7 separate regions of the Homo sapiens genome follow, and all the other regions are linked to region 3. Evidence: promoter capture Hi-C in human tissues and cell types (Jung and others, 2019). All regions are on one chromosome and are shown on one strand. Each heading gives the region's core, a stretch centred on a gene start or on the middle of the fragment in contact. The rest is flanking DNA. Distances are from core to core; before and after follow the strand shown.

The links. The method cuts DNA at HindIII sites, captures the fragments that hold promoters and counts their contacts. A contact is called where the count stands out against the background at its distance.
Region 1: a fragment that was not itself captured here is called in contact with the fragment with the promoter of FOXB1 in region 3 in 2 of the 25 tissues and cell types used here (aorta and dorsolateral prefrontal cortex).
Region 2: a fragment that was not itself captured here is called in contact with the fragment with the promoter of FOXB1 in region 3 in 2 of the 25 tissues and cell types used here (mesendoderm cells and thymus).
Region 4: a fragment that was not itself captured here is called in contact with the fragment with the promoter of FOXB1 in region 3 in 2 of the 25 tissues and cell types used here (IMR-90 fibroblasts and lymphoblastoid cells).
Region 5: a contact is called between a fragment that was not itself captured here and the fragment with the promoter of FOXB1 in region 3, in 2 of the 25 tissues and cell types used here (pancreas and spleen).
Region 6: a contact is called between a fragment that was not itself captured here and the fragment with the promoter of FOXB1 in region 3, in 2 of the 25 tissues and cell types used here (dorsolateral prefrontal cortex and lymphoblastoid cells).
Region 7: a fragment that was not itself captured here is called in contact with the fragment with the promoter of FOXB1 in region 3 in 2 of the 25 tissues and cell types used here (H1 embryonic stem cells and mesendoderm cells).

Annotation. Positions count from the first base shown.
Region 1 is chr15:59,863,213-59,866,029 of GRCh38, forward strand. No RefSeq gene overlaps it. Among named protein-coding and RNA genes, the nearest start is that of FOXB1, 140 kb to the right of the region's middle. The HindIII fragment of the contact is 4,657 bases long and covers 1-2,817 here.
Region 2 is chr15:60,245,135-60,248,030 of GRCh38, forward strand. All of the region lies in intron 2 of LOC105370839 (a long non-coding RNA gene), which reads left to right. Among named protein-coding and RNA genes, the nearest start is that of ANXA2, 150 kb to the right of the region's middle. The HindIII fragment of the contact is 7,723 bases long and covers 1-2,896 here.
Region 3 is chr15:60,002,841-60,005,734 of GRCh38, forward strand. FOXB1 (forkhead box B1) reads left to right here and starts at 1,471. Exons shown (of 2, transcript NM_012182.3): 1 at 1,471-1,803; 2 at 2,067-2,894. The coding sequence starts at 2,124. RefSeq lists an enhancer at 1,152-1,667. The HindIII fragment of the contact is 14,342 bases long and covers 1-2,894 here.
Region 4 is chr15:60,227,908-60,230,892 of GRCh38, forward strand. All of the region lies in intron 2 of LOC105370839 (a long non-coding RNA gene), which reads left to right. Among named protein-coding and RNA genes, the nearest start is that of ANXA2, 170 kb to the right of the region's middle. The HindIII fragment of the contact is 7,970 bases long and covers 1-2,985 here.
Region 5 is chr15:59,842,160-59,845,274 of GRCh38, forward strand. No RefSeq gene overlaps it. Among named protein-coding and RNA genes, the nearest start is that of BNIP2, 150 kb to the left of the region's middle. The HindIII fragment of the contact is 6,288 bases long and covers 1-3,115 here.
Region 6 is chr15:60,143,250-60,146,035 of GRCh38, forward strand. No RefSeq gene overlaps it. Among named protein-coding and RNA genes, the nearest start is that of FOXB1, 140 kb to the left of the region's middle. The HindIII fragment of the contact is 4,675 bases long and covers 1-2,786 here.
Region 7 is chr15:60,192,899-60,196,080 of GRCh38, forward strand. All of the region lies in intron 2 of LOC105370839 (a long non-coding RNA gene), which reads left to right. Among named protein-coding and RNA genes, the nearest start is that of FOXB1, 190 kb to the left of the region's middle. The HindIII fragment of the contact is 7,201 bases long and covers 1-3,182 here.

The DNA.
Region 1 (2,817 bases), core at 107-2,606, 140 kb before region 3:
GAACTCTCCCAATTTAAAAAGATGGCAAGAACTGGGCGTGGTGGCTCACGCCTGTAATCCTAGCACTTTGGGAGGCTGAGGTGGGCGGATCATTTGATGTCAGGAGTTCAAAACCAGCCTAGCCAACATGGTGAAACCCCGTCTCTACTAAAAATACAAAAATTAGCTGGGTGTGGTGGCGCACGTCTGTGATCCCAGCTACTTGGGAGGCTGATGCAGGAGAATCGCTGGAACCTAGGAGGCAGAGTCTGCAGTGAGCTGAGATGGCGCCACTGCACTCCAGCCTGTGCAACAGAGTGAGACTCCATCTCAAAAAAAAAAAAAAAAAAAAGATGGCAACTATTAAAAAGATTTTTTTTCAATTGTGTGAGCCAAATAAAATATGTCCATGAGCCTGATTTGGTCTGAGCCTTCTGCCTTACAACTTCTGGTCTGGAGGATATGTCGTACCAGAGATGATTTTGCATAAGAAGTACCTCAGGCCAGCCTTCACAATAGTGAAGACACAGCTAAATCACTCCTTCCACACAGCCAGTGAAGAAATGGCCTGTCCACTTTGACAGTCTCTGTCATTTAATAGTAGTATTTGAAGAAAGGAAACGATGACCAAAAAATCCATATTAAAATATGTCTCAATTTCAAAATTGATGATCAGAGAAATGAGCAAAAAGTGAGAGGAATTTTACAGTTTAACAAAATAGAAAAACTAGCAAACAAACAAAAAGGCATGGGTTGATATTAAACAAATGCCTAAGAGGAGTTCTGTTCCAACTCTCAAGGAGAGGTCCATCACAAGGTTTCCTGATGGAATTATTTTTTCCAGATACATTTCCTACTATCCATCCTTTCCACCTCATTACCATCTTGTTTCTCAGGACACTGATTTAGACATAGACCAATTTCAGCAGCATTTTATTACTAAAATCCCCCTCTTGCAAATGAGGAATTCAAATGTGGAACATAAGGCTGGGCGCGGTGGCTCACGCCTGTAATCCTAAGAATTTGGGAGGCCGAGGCAGGTGGCTCACCTGAGGTCAGGAGTTCGAGACCAGCCTGGCCAACATGGCGAAACCCCATCTCTACTAAAAATACAAAAATTAGCCAGGCATGGTGGTGGGAGCCTGTAATCCCAGCTACTCAGGAGGCTGAGGCTGGAGAATCACTTGAACCTGGGAGGTGGAGGTTGCAGTGAGCCAAGATTGCACCACTGCACTCCAGCCCGGGCAACAGAGTGAGACTCTATCTCAAAAAAATAAATTAATAAATTAATTAATTAAATTAAATTCAGTGGAACATAACCTGGTGCCCCCATTCATGCTGGCTTAGGCACCCCAAAGTAGTCTTCAGACAACCTCACTCTCTAGCAAGATGAGTGCTGTCGTGTGGAAATATGCTTTAGAGAGAAGGATTTGAATGCACTTTTTTTGCTTACGTAAACGTGCAGATGCAGGAAAATCTCATGGTGCTGTGTTGAGAAGTCAGTGCGAAGAACAAATTGTAATGAACTCACAGAAACGGGAGAGTACTTGTGGAAATCCTACATTATTAGTTTGCTGTTAATTAAAAAAAAAACTCTCTCCAACTGAACACTGCCTTGATAAAGAACCTAAATTCCAGAAGAAAAATAATCCTAGTAAAATAGCTCAGGTATATATATTTCTAAGTCTAAACACAGCCACTTTGCTGCTATGTGTGGTAGGAAGGCTGTGGTGTTATAATACATACCGGTCTTTGTCCACGGTTTCTGGCTGATAGCCATAGCCCTTATTGCAGTCTTTTGTTATAATGTTGGGTGTATGAGGCCACATGGGCAGCCTCTGACCTCCTCCTGCCCTCCTTTCATCTGCTCCAAGGCAAGACTCTACTTTTCCCCTGTCTTTCTGATTGTGGGTCCTAAGACCCTCCCATGAGAGGGTCCCACCCCTCTATACCTTGGGGAAGAAATGCTTACATCATGAAGCTTCCATAAAAACCCAAGAGGGCTGGTGTCAGTGAGCTTCTGGATAGCCGAACTGCAGGTTCCTCCAGAGGGTCCAGGGAGGGCATGGACCCTCTGGAGCCCTTCCCCCATTTCCTGCCCTAAACATCTTTTCATCTGTATCCTTTGCAATATCCTTTATAATAAACTGGTAAATGTAGGTAAGTGTTTCCCTGAGTTCTGTGAGCTGCTCTGGCAAATTATTTGAACCCAAAGAGGGGATCATGGGAACCCCAACTTGAAGCCAGTTGGTCAGAAGTTCCGGAGGCCCAGGCTTGTCACTGGTGTGTGTTAGAGGGGGCCAGTCTTGGCTGGGGACTGAACACTCAACCTGTGAGATCTGACGTCGTCTCCAGGTAGACAGTGCCAGAAATGAATTAGAGGACACCCAGCTGGTGTCCACTGCTTGGTGTGTGAGGAAAAAAAACCCACACATATAGTCACAGAAGTCTTCTCCTGTGCTGATGATTATTGTGATGTGAGAACAGAGGAAAAACATGGTTAGAGAGAGTTTTCCCTACACGGAAGCTGTCTTCTCTTTAGTTCGTCGGGTAGAAGCAAAGAATTCCAAGTCTGGGCAATTTGTTATCAAGTGCGACTTCAGCTCAGGTCCTTGATTCTGTAGTCTGTTATTTCAGTGGCAGCAACAGTTTGATTAAAAAGGTATGGAACCCAGCTAGAGGACTTGGGTTCAATTCCCCACTCTGCTGCTTATTTGCTCTGTGACCTTGGGCAAGGCCACGCTCGTCAGGCTGTAATGGAATGGAGAATGTGTCCCAGAGGAAACTGAGGTGAAATTTCAACATCTACTCCACTCTTACAGGCTGTGTGAACCTTGG
Region 2 (2,896 bases), core at 361-2,860, 240 kb after region 3:
AGAGGAAAAGCATTACCTTACCTATAGAGGAACAAGGAGAATAATTTCAATGAACTTTAGAAACCATGTAAACAAGAAAAGAATGGAGTGAAATATTTAAACTGTTGAAAAAAACTCCACCAATCTAGAATTCCATACCCAGTGAAATAATCCATCAAAGGTGAATAAGAAATAAAGACTTTCTCAGAACAAAAAAAGAGGGAATTTGTTGCCAGTAGACCTGCAAGAAGTGTTAAAAGGAATTATTTAGAAAGAAGGAAAATTATATAGATCAGAAGTTTGAATCTACATAAAGCAAAAGAAAGAACATTAGAAAAGGAACTAATGAAGGTAAAATAAAATGTGTTGTTTTTCTTATTCTTAACTGGCCTAACAGATAACTGTCCAAATAATAGCAATATATTTAATAATTATAGCTTATGGACAAGTAAAATGGATGACATTAATGGTATAAAGAGATGGGAGGAAGAAATTGGGAATATTTTGTTATATGGCACTTACACTACTTGTGAAATGGTATAGTATTATTTGAAAGTAGACTTAGATTATGTAAATAAACATCACAAATGCTAGAGCAACCACTAAAAAATGTTAAGACTTATAATCAATATGCTAAAAAAAGGAGAGCAATGGAATAATAAAATGCTCCATTAAAACCAAGGCAATAAGAAAAAAGAAGCAAAGAACAAATATAAAGCAATTACAAAAATGGTAGATACTAACCCAACTATATCAATAATAGTTTTAAGAATGAATGGTCTAAATAAACCAGTTAAAAGACAGAGACTGTCAATGTGGCTGAAAAACAAGACCCAACTGTATGCTATCTATGAGAAATCCACTGTAAATATAAAGACACAGATAGGGTAAAAGTAAAGGGATGGAAAGAGATATGCCATGTTAGAACTAATCAAAAGAAGCTATAGTGGCTATATTAATTTCAGAAAGCAGACTTCAGAGCAAGAAAATTATCAGGATGAAGGGTATTTCATAATGTCAAAGCGATCAGTTCTGCAACAAGATACACGGTGCTTATATGCACCTAACAAGAAAATGTCAAAATAGGTGAGACAAAAACTGATAAAACTGCAGGAAAATATAGGGAAACCCATTATTATAATTGAAGACTTCATCACACCTGTCTCTATAATTGACAGATCCAGCATGTAGAAAATTAGTAAAGATAGAGTGAACAGAATAGCACCATCAATATGAATTGACATTTAGAGGATAGTTTATCTAACAACAGAATATATAGTCTCAACCTAGAGCATACAAAAAGATGACCACATTTTGGATCATAAAATACACCTGTTTCAAAGCTGGCCTTTGGGATTGGATCCACTCAGGACAAGACCAAGGATCACATCCTTCTCAGGCAGCCAGTGTGACAATTCTACAGAGCATTTTAAGCAAAGCCAACTAAATTCATCATTAAGTAAGATATAGGAAAACTCCAATTAAACAAAGTGCTTCAGAAATAGGTTGTCCTTAGATGTCCAAGACTACAGGATTAAATAAATGATGGGACATCCAAATAGTGCAATACACAAGAGTTATTAAAAATCATGTTCAAGAATGTAATTAACATTGGAAATGCTGTTATGTAAAATCTTATATGAAAAACTGATCAAAAAAAGTAGGAACAATTTTTTAACCTATAATACAGATGAGAAAAAGACATCAAAAAGCTATCAAGATTATTTCTGTATAATTTTTTCTTCTTTTCTAAATTTTCTCAACTTTGTACAATAAACATTTATTACTTTGATGTGAGAAAAATATTGTGATTGGAAATTGATTAACCTGTTTAATTATATTTTTTAATGAATGAAAAATTAAGTAAAATACTTTTGGATGGTTTAAGTATTTTAGTGCATACTGTGAACTAAAGCACAACACAAACCCAGTGGTCTGATTATATTCAGTGAAATCAGTCAATCAACCAACCAATCCAGAAAAGCACCCCTGGCATATTTAAGCCTATTAAAAACAAAAACAAAACCACTTGTAAATTTAAGACAAATGAAAAAAATTGCATCTTTTCTTCTTATGTAAGCATCTCATAGGGCCTACAGCTTATAAAGCAAAACATCATTAATCATCACCATAGAACCACGAATGCAGGTATAGGGGGTTTAAAATCCACTGATTCAGGTATCATAGCTTGGAACAGCATTTAGTGACTGAACTCCTGGATTACATATCTTGCATATGTGGTATTTTTTTCAAAAGTTCAGTGCAACACAAATTCCAAAGAGCTCAGCTCTTTGGATTCCTGTTATAATCCTGTTGTACTCATTTTTGGGGTGCCATTTCAAACATGCAAGTTTTACTTAAGTTCTTACACTCATATTTAGATTTAAAAAATTATTCATTTATTGGTTTTAGTAGGTAAAATAGTCAGGTGGTTCAAATATCAAAGAGCACTAAAGTGCATAGTCTGAAAAGCCTCCCTGCCATCCATATACCCATCTACACAGTTCCCATCCTTCTCCAACGAACAACCACTATTGTTAGTTTCTGGTTTATCCTTCCAGAGACTTTAAATATATATATACAAGCACAGTATATGATTTCCTTCCTCTATTTTATCCAAAATATTATGCTATTATTCACCTTCCTTTTATTACCTAACAGTGAAACATATCTTAGAGATCTTTTAAAATCCTAATATAAACGATATGTTATATGGCACTTACACTACTTGTGAAAGTATTTACTAGTAGAATGAGAACGACATTCTCATTCTTTTTTACAGTTGCATAGTATTGTTTTGTAGGAAGTTATCATAAGTATTAAGCAGTCCCCTATGGATAGATGTCCAAGTTTTCCAATCTTCTGACAAACAACTCTGCAATAAGTTATCTATTACATAAATTATACAAATGCATAG
Region 3 (2,894 bases), core at 221-2,720:
TGTGGGCTGTAAGTATTGAGTTTTTAACAACGCAGTAAAATGAATGTCTTTTAAAAACCTTAAAGGTCGGAGAATGTGCAGAAACCCGTGGGAACTCCTGGTGTGTACTTATAGAGTGCGTGCATGCAGGCGGGGTCGACTCACTATTTATTTCATAGCAATTTGATGATGATGATGATGACGGCAGCGACGACGATGAGGATAATGATAATAATAATAATGATTCATTTAACCCTTCCAAGGCGAATCCGAACCGAAGGGAGCCTGCTGCTCGCACCAGGCGGAGTGACCCAAGGCACATTCCCCGCTCCCCAAGAAGGAAAACTCTATGGTTCTTTCCCCAAGTTGTAGAAGATACTGCTGTCTTAGTGGGATCGCAGGCGGCTTTTGCTACACTCTAAATCCTAAATAAGTTCTCCATACCAAAAAAAGCGGCAGTTGGGGGATGGGGGGTGGGAGGTTGGGGGGGTGGGAGGGCTGGGAAGGGGAGTTCCGGGTGTAAAATGAAAACTTCCAGGATGTGCCTGAGTCCTAAAGTTTCAAACCACCTGGGAAAAGCGAGAGCCCCTGAGGCTTACCTGGTGATAAACTGTGTCAAACAAACTCAGGCCCTCCCCAGGTCCGCACAACATTTGCCCCAACAGCTCCTGAGCCTCCATCCTGTGTCCAACCAAATTCCCGGAGGACTTTTAAAGCAAATACCTGGACTCTTCGCCCAGATACACTATTTTAATTTTTAAAAATTTGGTCAATACAGTTACATTCAAAATGGGTTCTTACATGGGGATGTCCAATCACATTTTGAAAGTATTTGTAAACCCCATCACTTTTTCAAAGCTACACACTAACTATACAAAGCTGAAGCAGCTGCATAGGAAAGTCAAGTCAAATTTCGACCTAACTCTCCGGGGACTGGGGGGCAAGGGTGTGTTTTCATTATTATAACCCATGCAACCAACCCCGGGTAGTGCTAAGCGCAGGAAAAGGGTCGGCTTCAGGGGAAAGCCGTGCCTAAAGTTACCTAACGATACAAACCGGATACAACGCAGAGGAAACAGAATACCCCAGCCAAGCAATTTCCATGTCAAACATCATCCGCGCGGCTGCTCCATCTGTGAACGTGAGTGGTCGCCTGGCTCCCTCTTCCGCGGCGGCCGCTTCCTCATACCTTCACACGGCGCACACCGGCCGGCGCGTCCAGCTGCCTGCCCAGTGGCCGAGGCTCTTCCCCCTCGCCCAGTCTTGAGCTGGAAGTGATTCCTATTGGCCAAGGTGTCCATGTAAATAGGTGTGAAAGAAACCAGAGCTGGCCGGGCTCTCCCTTCTCGCTCAGTCCCCTCCCTCTGCAGCCCCCGCTCCCCCTCCTCTTCCTCCTCCTCCCAAGGCGATTGTCATATGATAGCTAAGAAGTGGCACATTAATGAAGCGCCGCTACAGGGGTCTTTTCTGCTCCTGTCACCGCTTAAAACTATCAGATGGTTCGAGGGAGGACATGGAGGCAGCCACCTAGCTCAGCGGAGACGCGGAGCCCACAGCAGCGCCCTCCGGAGCCCTAACACGTCGCTGCCACCATCCGCGCCGGGACTCCGCAGCCGAGCTCGGCCGCCCGCAGGACGCTCCAGGAGCGTCGCGGACCGGGCGGCACGGGACGCTGCGGGGCTGAGCTCAAGAGCCCAGGTTCGCGCCGAGTCCAACCGGACCCGGACGCTGCGCGCGGAGTGCGCGTCGAGTGCGCGCCGAGAGAGAAGCGGCGCGCAGCGGCGTCCTCCCGGATGCGGACGCGCAACTTGAAGCAACTTTAAGGTGAGCAGCTCTCTGTTCCGTCCCTGCCCCCTATTCTGGCCCCAGTACCGACTTACTTCCCGGCTATCCTCGCGCCGTTCGCCGGCTTCCCCTCCCGCGCCCACTAAGCCCGCAAAGTTGCTGGCGAAAGAGTCCGGGCGCTGGCTGATCGAGCGCCGCAGGCCCCACCCCCGACCCCCGAAGTCTGTTACTCGGTCTGGCTGACCCCGCCGGTGTCTCTGTGCATCCATGCTACCTTTCCCTATTACCCACCCCCTTCCCAGATCCGAGCAGTCCGCCGGCCCGCGCGGACCCAGAGCAAGAAGAGGGCGAGGAAGAAGATGCCTCGGCCCGGCCGCAACACGTACAGCGACCAGAAGCCGCCCTACTCGTACATCTCGCTGACCGCTATGGCCATCCAGAGCTCTCCCGAGAAGATGCTGCCGCTGAGCGAGATCTACAAGTTCATCATGGACCGCTTCCCCTACTACAGGGAGAACACGCAGCGCTGGCAGAACAGTCTGCGCCACAACCTCTCCTTCAACGACTGCTTCATCAAGATCCCGCGGCGGCCGGACCAGCCAGGCAAGGGCAGCTTCTGGGCGCTGCACCCAAGCTGCGGGGACATGTTCGAGAACGGCAGCTTCCTGCGGCGCCGCAAGCGCTTCAAGGTGCTTAAGTCCGACCACCTGGCGCCCAGCAAGCCAGCCGACGCGGCGCAGTACCTGCAGCAGCAGGCCAAGCTGCGGCTCAGCGCGCTGGCGGCCTCGGGCACGCACCTGCCACAGATGCCCGCCGCCGCCTACAACTTGGGCGGCGTGGCGCAGCCCTCGGGCTTCAAGCACCCCTTCGCCATCGAGAACATCATCGCGCGGGAATACAAGATGCCTGGGGGGCTGGCCTTCTCCGCCATGCAGCCGGTGCCCGCTGCCTACCCGCTCCCCAACCAGTTGACTACCATGGGCAGCTCGCTGGGCACCGGCTGGCCACACGTGTATGGCTCCGCCGGCATGATCGACTCGGCCACCCCCATCTCCATGGCGAGTGGCGACTACAGCGCCTACGGCGTGCCGTTGAAGCCGCTGTGCCACGCGGCGGGCCAAACGCTGCCC
Region 4 (2,985 bases), core at 156-2,655, 230 kb after region 3:
AAAATCACTACAAAAACTGATTCAGTGAGAAGCCTAAGCTAAGATGGTGTACTCTCATAAGTAGGCACTGTCGGTTCTAATGGGAATTCTATTTCTGGGTCTCATTGCCTTTTCACAATTTCCATAGCACAGGCTTTGTGATTCCCATGGTGCACACGAAAAACTCACCCTAGAGAAGTAGATGTTCTAGCTCAAGATTCCACAGCTCGTCAATAATGAAGCCAGAACCAGAGTCTGGGTTTCTAGATTGCTGCATGGTCATGACCTGCTCCAAAACCTCAAACTACCCACCCACATCTTTAAACTGCTGGCCCAGAGTGTGGGTCACTCCTACTGTGGTATCATTCCTTATCCAGGCTCTACTTCAATCTTGGCTCCCAGAACATTCCATATAGCCTGTGCTTGGCAATCTGCCCAGGTTGTCTTATCTATTTTCTCCAAATCATAAACTCCTCAACTAATGCTTGCATGTGCAAAGATATGCATTGGAAGAAAGTAGGAGGATAAATCATCCCTAACCACTGCCAACAGGTTCAACGAATTAAACCAATGTATGTTAATTGAAAAATCGTTCTTTATAAATATAGATAAACTTTAAAAGACACGATTAAGTACTTTTTAATAGCTTTAAAAAAATCGCCTTTACTTTAAATGACCTTTAGATGTATTTTTTGTTCTATTGATTTTACTATTTTAACTGCAGATACATCTTTTAATTTACTCCAAGGGAATTAACCGACAACCTTCCATTTTCTGTTTGGGTCTCATTTTAAATGCCAGAACTACCCCTAATGTAGCTATCATCAAAACTTAAAACTCCACAGTTTAAGAAACAAAGTTCTGACAACTGGTTCCACTGTGGGGGGAAATGGAACTTTTTATTCTGATACTATAATTAGACCAAGAAACTGAAAGCACACTCCAAAATAAGAATTTGCTGCTATGACTAGTCAATGTCATTTATGCTCAGGGAAGAGAGAGAGGTGTAATAAACTTTGACAACTTATTTGCAACATTTTATATTTAACATCATTATATCTACATTTTGAAAGCAGCACATCAGACTTTTGTTCTCTAAAATCGAAGCTGAGCAGAATTGCAAGTAGAAATAAGTGACCAACTCCAAAGCTGAGGACCAGCCCCTGTGATGTGGATGTAACCCTTTGAGAGCACAGCATTCTGGAAAGATGACAGGCACGATGTAGGGAAGCCAGAGATCACCTCCAATCCTCCTTTCAGCTCTTGGTGGGATATTCAGCTGGATCTGAATACTGACACTAGGAAGATGAATGAACAAGAGAGAAGTACACACATTTCATTCATGTTGCATGTCCATGGGGATCTGCATAAGAGAGTAAAGTCTGAAGAAGTGACCAAAGCAAGATGGAGACAAAGAGCAATAAATTTGAGGAAAAAATGGCAAGGCAAAAAAAAAAAAAAAAAGAAAAGAAAATCTGGCTAAGGATAGCAAATTTTCTAGGGGAATCACTAGGAGATATAGCAGGGGTGAAATAGGTGGAAGATAGCGTTGCTTCAGGAAGTATGTTAATTCAGGGTCCATTGCAGCCTCCAATCACCAGTCTGTGGGTAATAGGAATATTTTCTCACCATGGTATAGTGAGGACTCCCCTCCTAGAGGAATCTTTGTCCCTTGCTGCATGCAGGAAGAGACAGCTCAGCTCACCCTCTCTGAAACAATTTCTCCAATGTTTTCAACTTGAAATAATCAATATACTAATCTGGCATATTTGGGATGGCACATCCTTCACTCCTTCAGTGGTAAATAAACCACTGGATGAAATCAGGGCTGGCAACCTTCTGAAAGGGGTGTACTGAAGAGCCGACTCCTCTCCTCTCCCTCTGGCATGCTGTTCCCTTGCCAACCACATCTTTGCGAAGTAGAAGAGGCCTATATCCACCTGCCAATTGTCACGTGGGAAGGGCCACTGACCCTCATGGGCATGGTGGCCCAGCCACCCAAGTGTGTGTTGAAGAGCCATGGCTTATGCACCATCTCAGGCAGTGACCAGACAGGCTCACTCTCACCAACTCTGCAACCATCGATCAAAGAAGTGGGATTCATCAGGTATCCTCCAAGATAATTCTGATGACATAAGAAGTATTGGTAGAATAAAATAATGAGACCAAAAGAAAGAGAAAAGGTTAACAGACCAGACACCAGAGAAATTAATGATTATGTTCTTCCCTTTCTTCCCCTCCTATTAAGAAAAAAAAAATTTAAAAACCAGATAGGGGAAATAGTGAGCAAATTTTCTAATTGGGAGTGGAGATGAGGAAGTGGGGGAGACATGGAATCATCATAGCAGACTAGGAAAGAAAGGGAAGAAAAAGAGAAACCATATTTAATGTAATGTGCAGAAGTAGCCATTTATTTACACACCCTTTCCATTTAGAAAAGATGTGTTTCGGCCTCTGGCTGAATGTACATACTAATTAGTGCTAATGAATATAAATGATACTCACAACTCAACCTGTTTACAAAGTCCCCCCATGTCATTCAGGGAAGAATTGAGTTTGGAAATGAGATATGTGTTGTGTTCTTGGGCTTGACGATGACCTAGAGGTTACCGAAGCTAAGGACAATGAAATCAATTAGCAATTAACAAGGCAAGAAAGAGTCAAACCCACAAAATTCAGTACCTCCAGCGGTAGGCACTGTTACAGAGGAAGACACACTCTTCCCATAGGGTAACATGTTTAGCTCGGCACAACCAGCAGCTGTTGAGGGTGGGAGTTCAGGGAACAACTTTAAAATCATGAGAGGTCTACCGGAAAAAAAAAAAAAAAAGTAAAATAAGATGAAAAGAAGTATGCTTTATTAAGCTTAGGGAGACATTACCCTACAGGAAAAGGAATAAACTACAGGGCTGTTTGGTGTTCATATGCCAAGCTGAAGAAGTATCACCCATACTGAGGTCATATCACTCTTCAGAGAGGGCGTGGAAGCTCTGCACCCTGCCGCCC
Region 5 (3,115 bases), core at 262-2,761, 160 kb before region 3:
GTTTCTAAGGTGATTATGATTATTCAAGATCTTTGTTCATTAAATGGAGGATCTTGATCTTAGAAAGAAAGAAAGAGCCTGGGTAAGGAGGTTCATGCCTATAATCACAACACTTTGGGAAGCCAGGGCAGGAGGATTACTTGATCCCTGGAGTTTGAGACCAGCATGGACAACATGACGAAACCCCATCTCAACAAAAAATACAAAAATTAGCCAGGTGTGGTGGTGCACACCTGTAGTCCCAGCTACTTGGGAGGCTGAGGTTGGAGAATCACTTGAGCCTGGAAGGTTGAGATTGCGCCACTGTACTCCAGCCTGGGCAACAGAGTAAGACACTGATTCAAAAAAAAAGGAAAGCAAAGAAAAGAAAAGGAAAAAGGAAGGAAGGGAGGAAAGGAGAAAGGGAAGCTTTTTCCAAAGCACAAAGCTGTCCTCAAGTATCCTAACATTCTGTCATGGAGTATCTTGAGGATTGAAATGGATCTCATGGGAGGAGCAGTGGTGAATCTATGGAACGTTTTCGTAAGAATCATCGCTGGGATGATTAGCTGTCAGAATGTTACCAGTATGTGCAATCACCTTTGAAAAAATACTGGAATATGAGGTGAATTGCATAAATACTCAATAAATGCATAAATAATTACTAATATTTAATATTTTAAAATAATTGTTTTAACTTGGCATCAAGCATCATTACTATTGACTTTACCTGGTAGAAATTTCAAAAAGACCCAGATAACTTGAAAATCGGCCTTAGACCCCAGCCAGCTATCATCATGTGATATACATGGGTCACCATTTTCCCTTTGTTAAACAAGAAGCTCCTCCTGGGCTCTTCCACTCTCTTTTCATGTCTTTTCCACTTTTGCATCGTTGGTCAGTGTCCAGTACAGAATTAAAAACTTAATAAATGGTTACTGAGTGAATGAATAACATGTGAAAAGAACCATGAGTCTGAGATTCCAGTTCCAAAATGGCTGCTGAGTTTCTATGCCATTTTGAGAAGGTCACTTTACGTTTCTGGGCCTCAGTTTCCTTATTAATCAATGGAAGGGATAGTTGGCTGACATTAATAGTAGCTAACATTGACTAATCTTTTCTTATGTGCCTGGCATTGTTCTCATTGCTTGCCTGCATTAGCACATTTAATCTTCACGGTGCAATACCCAGGGATTCTCTCATTCAGGTCACCTCACACACAGCTCTGGAAAAAGCACCACGCAGGTGCCCCAGGGGTCTGTAGGAGTGTTTGTAGGAGGAGCCAAGCATACATTGGTCTCAACCAGGTCACTTTTGAGCATGGAGCCTTATGCTTTAGATTAGCCAACTGGAAAAATTCTTCGGTTTGCCTATCTCAAGTTGGCTTAAGCTTTCTCTTATTCAGTAAAAATTACAGGTAGCAGAAGTGTGTGGGGAGAGCGGTGGGAGAAAATGGCAAAGAAGAGAAAGATGGCCATAGCTGGCCTCTGTTTCATTCTGCTAGGGTGAAGTGAGGCAGAAATCCAGAAATCCACCTGACAGAGACTCCACTTGGCCCCCTGTGATCCAAGTGCATAACCAACCCGTGTAATTGCCAGCCCTAAGATGAATTACTTCACCTGCTCTCTTGCAGGCGATGCCCTCCAGGCTAACAGGTGTGGGACGTGGCCAGAAGGGATGTGGATTAAAGAAGATGCCATTCCCAAGCTGCCTTGAGGAGGCCAGACCTTGGGCTCCATCCAGCCATCTAGGAGAGTCAGGCAGGGCCAGCTTCCCTCTGACTGGGTGGTCTTGAATCTAAGCTATGAATCAAGAATAATTTTTGCCTAATGTGAGAAGAGTCTGCATCCTTGAGGATTCCAGAAACGTTCTGTTTCTTCCCAGTCCTGTATCGTTTCCTTAACAGCCTCCTAAAACATGCTTGAGGCTGCTGGGAGAAACAGTGGGGGGAACACGTCTTTCTTTCACAGAGCTTTCAACTAATTGAGAAGATATTTGTATAGTGACTTCACTGGGAAGCCTGCTGTTGGAATACTGAACAAATTTCACACTCATTGCTTCAATATTTGCCATGAAATTCTTCCAAATTCTAATGAGAGACTGTCACTCTCCTCAGGCCCCTCTTTCATGGATGAAGAATAAATATATTTCTTCTTTTCCTCTATTTACTGTACCAGAAGCTATTTTGGAGAGAGCCAAGGTTAGTTGTCAGTCACCAAGATGCAGATCTGGATGAAAGTGGATGATTGTGGTACGTACTGGTAATAGCTATGACACCATGGGCAAATTTCTTACTATCTCGAAATAACATTTTCCTCACCTATGAACTCACTCCAGTACCTTTCACAATTAAAAAATAATGAAAAAAGAAAACACCATAGAGGGTTGTTTTGAAGATTAAACAAGCTATGCATGGAAAGCATTTAGCCCAGTGCCCAGTACACAGAAAACAGTTGATAAATCATAGTTGTTATTATTAATATCTTCAACTTCATCCAGCCTCTCATTCCTGCTGGCGTGGGACCTGGTGGCTTGGATGAGAAGGTTCAAAATGTCAAAGTCAAACTGAAATGGATTTGCTTCCCATATTAAGTATAAACACCTCAAATGGAATTACACCTTGTAGAACATATTTAGAAGATAAGTTAGTACATTGCTATGGTTTGAATATTTGTGTCCCTCCAGGATTTGTGTTAAAACATAATCCCCAAAGAGATAGTATTAAGGTGTGGAGTTTTTAGGAGGTGATTAGGTCACAAAGGATCCATGAACGGGATTGTGCCCTTTTAAAAGGGTTGAGGGAGGCTGTTTGGCCCCTTTTCCTGCCTTCCGCCCCTCCTATCATGTGAGGACACAGTGTTCATCCTTTCTTCCCTTACCTAAGGACACAGCAAGAGGCATCATCCATGAAGCAGAGACGGAAATCTTCACTAGACACTGAATTGCAGGCACCTTGATCCATCATGGACTTCTAGGCCTCCAGTGCTATGAGAAATAAATTTCTATTATTTATAAGTTATCTAGTCTAACTAAGACATACATTGCACTTTTGTATTTTTCTATCCTGAATCACATTCCAGTATGGCCTTCCTGGATTTTTCACAAGACATACAATTTCAAATCTCCTGTCTCATTG
Region 6 (2,786 bases), core at 204-2,703, 140 kb after region 3:
CCTGCTGTATCGTATCCTTCACCTTCATTAAAGCTTTACGTGTTGTGTATATTCCTTTGGAATCTCATAAGTTTTTCACTTAGCCAACACTTTGTAATTGCTGCACTTAGTCATAATGTACCATACTTGTTATTTATCCTTGGATTTGGCTTGCTAATATTTTGGTTAGGATTTTTGAATCTTTACTTATGGGAAAGATTTGGCTGTCATTTTCCTTTCTTATGTTTTTATCATGCCAGGTTTTGGTATCGGATCCTTCTGGCTTTATAAAAATAGTTGGGATGTTCCTTTTTTTATTCTTTGAAATATTTTGTATAAGACTGGTTTTACTTCTTCCTTAAATATTAAGTAGAACCCACTATTGAAGACAGCTGGGCCTGGTGTTTTGTAGGTAGAAAGTTTTTCATTATAAATTTATTTAAATGTTTAGTATTATACAGGTTTTTCTATTTCTTCCTGTATACATTTTGGAAAGTTGTATTTTTCTAGGAATTTTTCTACTTCATCTAAATTTTCTAACTTCTTAGCATAAAGTTGGTGGTAATATTCCACTATTATCTTTTTAATGGTGAAAAGATTTTTTTGTAACTTGCTTATTTGTATTCTTCATATTGGTTATTTAAGCAATCTTTATTTTTTCCTTGATCAGACTCACCATGGATTTATCCATTTTCATAGGTTTTCTTAAAAGAAACTTTGGGCTGTATTGATTTCCTCATGCATTTTGTTCTTATTAATTTTTGCTCTTATGAAAACTTCTTTCCTTTTACACTATCTAGTTTTAGTTTCTGACCCTTTCTTACTTCTTGAGACAGGTGCTTAGATTACTGGCTTTCATCCTTCCTTCCTTTTTAACATCTGTTTTTAGTACTATACTTTCTAAGAAGGCTGTAGCTGCCTCTCACAAGTTTTGATATGTAGTATTTTCATTATCATTCAGTTCAGAATATTCTCTAATTTCCTGTGTGATTTCTTCTTTCTTATCATATTTAGATATGTATTGCTTAATTTCCAAACATATGATAATTGGCTCACTTTCTTTGTGGTTATTTCTTCCTAGCTTAGTACGACTATGGTCGGAGAACATACTTTATATCATTTTAATACATTGAAATGTATTCATCTTTGCTTTATGGCCAAAAGTCGTCAATTTTGGGAAATTCTCACTTGCATTTAAAAAGAATGTCTAGTCTTCAGCATTGAGTTTTGTATAATATCTCTCAATTCAGTCAAGTTTGTTAAACATGTTGCTGTAAACATCTACATTCTTAATGATTTTTGGTCTGCTTGTTCTTTCTGTTACCCAGAGATGTGTTGAGGTCAGCCACCATGATGGTGGATTTATTGGTTTCTTAGACCTGCCAATGTTCTGACAGAGTTCGTATTGTTACGTTTTCCAGGCGAGTTGAAGCTTTTATCATAAAATGCTCCTCTTCAGTTTAGGTTGGCATGCTATATTTTTTTCTCAGACTTTTAACTTTTTCATATCCTTATATTTGAGATATGCCTTGTTTTAGCAGCATGCAGTTGGGTTTGGTCTTTGTATTGAGTCTGAAAATTTTTGTATTTTAATTGGGATATTTGTTTCATTTTTCTATAATGCAATTTCTGATATATTTGGGATTAAATACACCACCTTTCTATTTTTTTCTATTTGTACCTATTCATCTCTCTTTTTCCCTTTCTTCTTGCCTTCCACTAGATTGATTTTGTTATGATTATTCCATTTTCTCCTCCTTTGGCTTGGGAAAGTTATACATTCTATTACTATTCTTTGTAGTTATAAATTATTTTTATGAATTCTTTTACTATTCTTTCAGTGGTTCTCCTGAGATTATAAAATGCATTCTTAATTTATCAAAGTCTAATACAAATCAGTATTTTCACCACTTCCTTGACTAGGCAAGGCTTTAGAACTTGTATGGTATGGCTATTACATATTTTACTTCTCTCTATACATAAATTTCATCCAATAGTATTATTGTTATAATTGTTTTATACTATCAATATCTATTTAGATTTAGTTACATGTTTACCATTTCTGTTCTTCATTCTTTGTCCATTTGCAATCTTCTATTTGGTATCATTCCTTCCTGCATGAAGAACATCTTTATTATTTCCTTTAGTATAGGCCTAAATTACCAGTTTATTTCCTGGCTGAAAATATTTTTGTTTCACCTTCTTTTTGGAGGGTCTTTTTACTGGGTATAAATGTCTAGGCACTTTCATAATAATATTCATTTATCTTCCAGGTTCTAATTTTTTTTCTTTTTTTGAGACAGAGTCTTGCTCTATTGCCCAGGCTGGAGTGGAGTGGTACAATTTTGGCTCACTGCAACGTCTGCCCCGCGGGTTCAAGCAATTCTTGTGCTTCAGCCTCCGTGTAGCTGGGACTACAGGCGCATGACACCACGCCCTGCTAATTTTTACGTTTTTTGTAGAGACAGGGTTTTGCCATGTTGGCCAGGCTGGTTTCGAACTCCTGACCTCAGGTGATACGCCCACCTCAGCCTCCTAAAGTGTTGGGATTACAGGCATGAGCCACCGCACCTGGCCTGATTTTGTTCTGTTGAGAGTCTGTCAGTGTTTTTGAAGACTATCTTTTCTTTTGCTCTTAAGTCTTTATCTTTGATTTTATTTATTTATTTGTTTTATGGAGTCTCACTCTGTCACCCAGGCTGGAGTACAATGGCGCAATCTCGACTCACTGCAACCTCCATCTCCCAGGTTCAAGCGATTCTCCTGCCTCAGCCTCCCTAGTAGCTCGGACTACAGGTGCCCATCAC
Region 7 (3,182 bases), core at 294-2,793, 190 kb after region 3:
ATAGAAAAATCATTTAACAATCACACATGTAACTAACCATTTATTTTTGTCATAGCTTAACATTTTGCTTCAGATAGCTTAACATTTGTTTCAGATCTTTTTCTTAAGGAAGTGAGTCATTACAGATACAGTTGAGGCCCCTCAAGCATCCCCACCTAATTCAATGCCCATTTCCCCTGCCAAAAAGAAAAATTGAAAATCAGCTCTGGTCAAGACAGCTGTGTTGTATAGATCACACTGGCCCCTGGAGTTGTGCCCCCAGCACCTCAATGCTGGGATTGCATCTTTTTTAGTTTTCCTCATTTTTTTTTCCATCACAGGTTCATTTCCATTCAAGCAAGGAGATGGGAAACAAATTCTAGAAATGCCTAAACTTTCCTAAAGTGAAGTCATATTCTTAACAGAGGCCAGTCTTTGATAAAACCAGAAGTTAGCTTTTGAAAGGAGGGACTCTAGGTAAAACTGTCCACAAAAAAGGTCTCTTCCTTTTCTGCTTTCTTCACTCTATTTTTTATTTTATTTCGAGGCAAGGTCTCACTCTGTCACCCAGGCTGAAATGCAGTGGCATGATTACCGCTCACTGCAGTCTCAACCTTGTGGGCACAAGCAATCCTCCCACCTCAGGCCCCTGGAGTAGCTGGCACTACAGGTGTGCACCTCCATGCCCAGCTAATTTTTGTATTTTTCGTAAAGACGGGGTTTCCCCATGTTGCCCAGGCTGGTCTCAAACTCCTGAGTTCAAGCAATCCTCCCACCTGGGCCTCCCAAAGTGCTGCGATTACAGGCATGCGCCACCATGCCCAGCCAGAATTTCATTTTTTGATTAAAAAATATTTCCATATTTTCATCCTTACCATTGATATAAAGTTCTCTACAACACACATTTAATAAGTATTATTTTTGCAATATTTGCCTCAAATTGTTGTGTTTAAGAAAATCAGATGTTACTAATAGAGCTAGTAGAGATAAGGTCACAACAGATTCTTTCTAAAGTGGTTGCACCATATGCTCTATTAGCAGCTTGGAAGAGGACCTAGTACTTCATATTGTAATGCATAATAATGGTTGATCCCCTCCCTTGCATAACACATTAGGGAATCTTTAATATTTCAAACCAAAGGAAGTAAGTTTTAAGCATCAGCAATAGGAAGATGTGGAAAGTTTAGGCAAGGGGTCTTTCAGTATTTCACATCGTGTTGTTACTTTTAGCACACTCCCATCACCTCTCTTGTTCTCCTACTCTGCACCCCATACTTTAACCAGAGTGCTCTTGAAAACCGAATCTGATCATGCCACTCCCAACTTACAACTCTTGGGTGCCTTCCCATGGTGTTAAGGAGAAACTCTAAGCCCCTTTCCCACCACAGGCTACCTGAAGAGGCCCTGTTCCCTCTCCTCTTCCTGTCTGCATTTGCCACTCTGACCTCCTTTCCATTTCTTAAAGGTGCCAAGCTCTTTCCCACCTCAGAGTCTTTGTATGTTTTCTTTGCCTGAAACACTCTTTTCCCTTCTCTGTGGTTGGCCAATTCTAAGCCATTTTTCACATCTCAGCTGACAAGTGCCTTTAATAACAAAAAATTTCCCTGGCTTCTCGTATATCTAAATCAGGACTCCCTTATGTAATCTTATTATATCTGTTGTTTTTTAAATTATAATTTACAAATGCATATTTATTTGTATGAGTATTTGTTTAATGCCCGTTTCTCTTGTTAGACTATAAACTTCATAAGGCTAAGCATCATGATCCTTTTTCACTTCTAAATTTACCAGCATAGTGCCTCTTATAGAATCAATCATTATTGCTTGACTAAATGATTGAAAATACCCTGCTCCAGACCTCAATATTTAAAGCTTCCTTTCCCAAACTTGCACAATTGCCCCAAGCCTTCCCTCTTCTTCTCTAACTTAATCTCCACTCCAATCTCTGCCCCCCTCCTTTTCCCTTTCCACACACGTTTGCATGTCTCCACCCACTTGGAAAAAGGAACTAAGGGCTGGTAACAAAAAGTATGCCTTATGATGATTACATGCATTCTAGTCTATTTCTATTACATACTGCAACATAAAATGTCATTATATGGTATACATGCAATGAAAGGTTTATTTCAAATTTTAGAAGTATGTCTTTAAAGACATCATGAGAACACCTCCATGGATTCAAGATGATTTTGGTAAGCACGAATGGTTAAATTAATAAGCCAAATAGCTACTTTGCAAGCATGGACTCAACCAAGAATTCTAAACTATAAGCTGGAAGACAATGTCACCCCATGAAGCAGCTATCAGGTTTTTAAAAGTGGTTTTGAACAGAATTGCAAGTATTATTAACTGTAACAGAATAGTTGTGTTCCCCCAGGTAGTTCTGAAAAATACTGCACATCATCTTGTCACTTAATATTCAGAGACAAATTTGGAGGTTCAAATTTGTATTTTTATCGTGTACATAAACATTTTTCCAGTCACACTAACAAGGAGGGGGAGGAGGAAGACGAGGAGGAGGGGGAGGAGGAAGACGAGGAGGAAGGGGAGGAGGAGAAGGCAACCAAAAAAGGTGGATCATCATGAAATTAAAGTCCCATGCTGAAAACTAAGTACTCTGAAGAGCACTGGTTTTTTTAACTGATAAATGTTCTTACATACATTTTTCAACCTTCTTTATTCACCATTACACGATTTCATCCAATGATTCCATGTTTCTTTTCCTTTAAGAACTCCGGGTATAACTGATGTAATTTTAGAGTTCATGCCTCTCTCCCTTCAAAACAGACTAGCAATGACTAGCAATACTCTAAAGGTTGAAATAATTGTGCCAAGAAGAGGACACAGCAGAGGCAAATTGTCCCCATTCCAAAAGCAGCTAAAGCTATAAACAGAAAACAGTGTTGAATCCAAAATCCAAGAATTTGACCTGGGGATGTTGCTAGCTGTGTTCTTCTGGGACTTTTTTATTTTGTTGCTCAGCAACCACAATCCCCATTCTTTGTTCAGACAGATGCTCCAGACCTCCAGATCCAGAGATGAGCAGGCTTGTAATTTCCTTCTTGAACTTACTTTCAAACTAGTGATTCAAGGTAGAAGGGAGAGAGGCATAAATAAAGAATCTTCCAATGAAATCTTTAAGACATTCATTTATTTACTCAACAAGCATTTACTGAGCTCCTATCATGTACTTAGGAATTGTG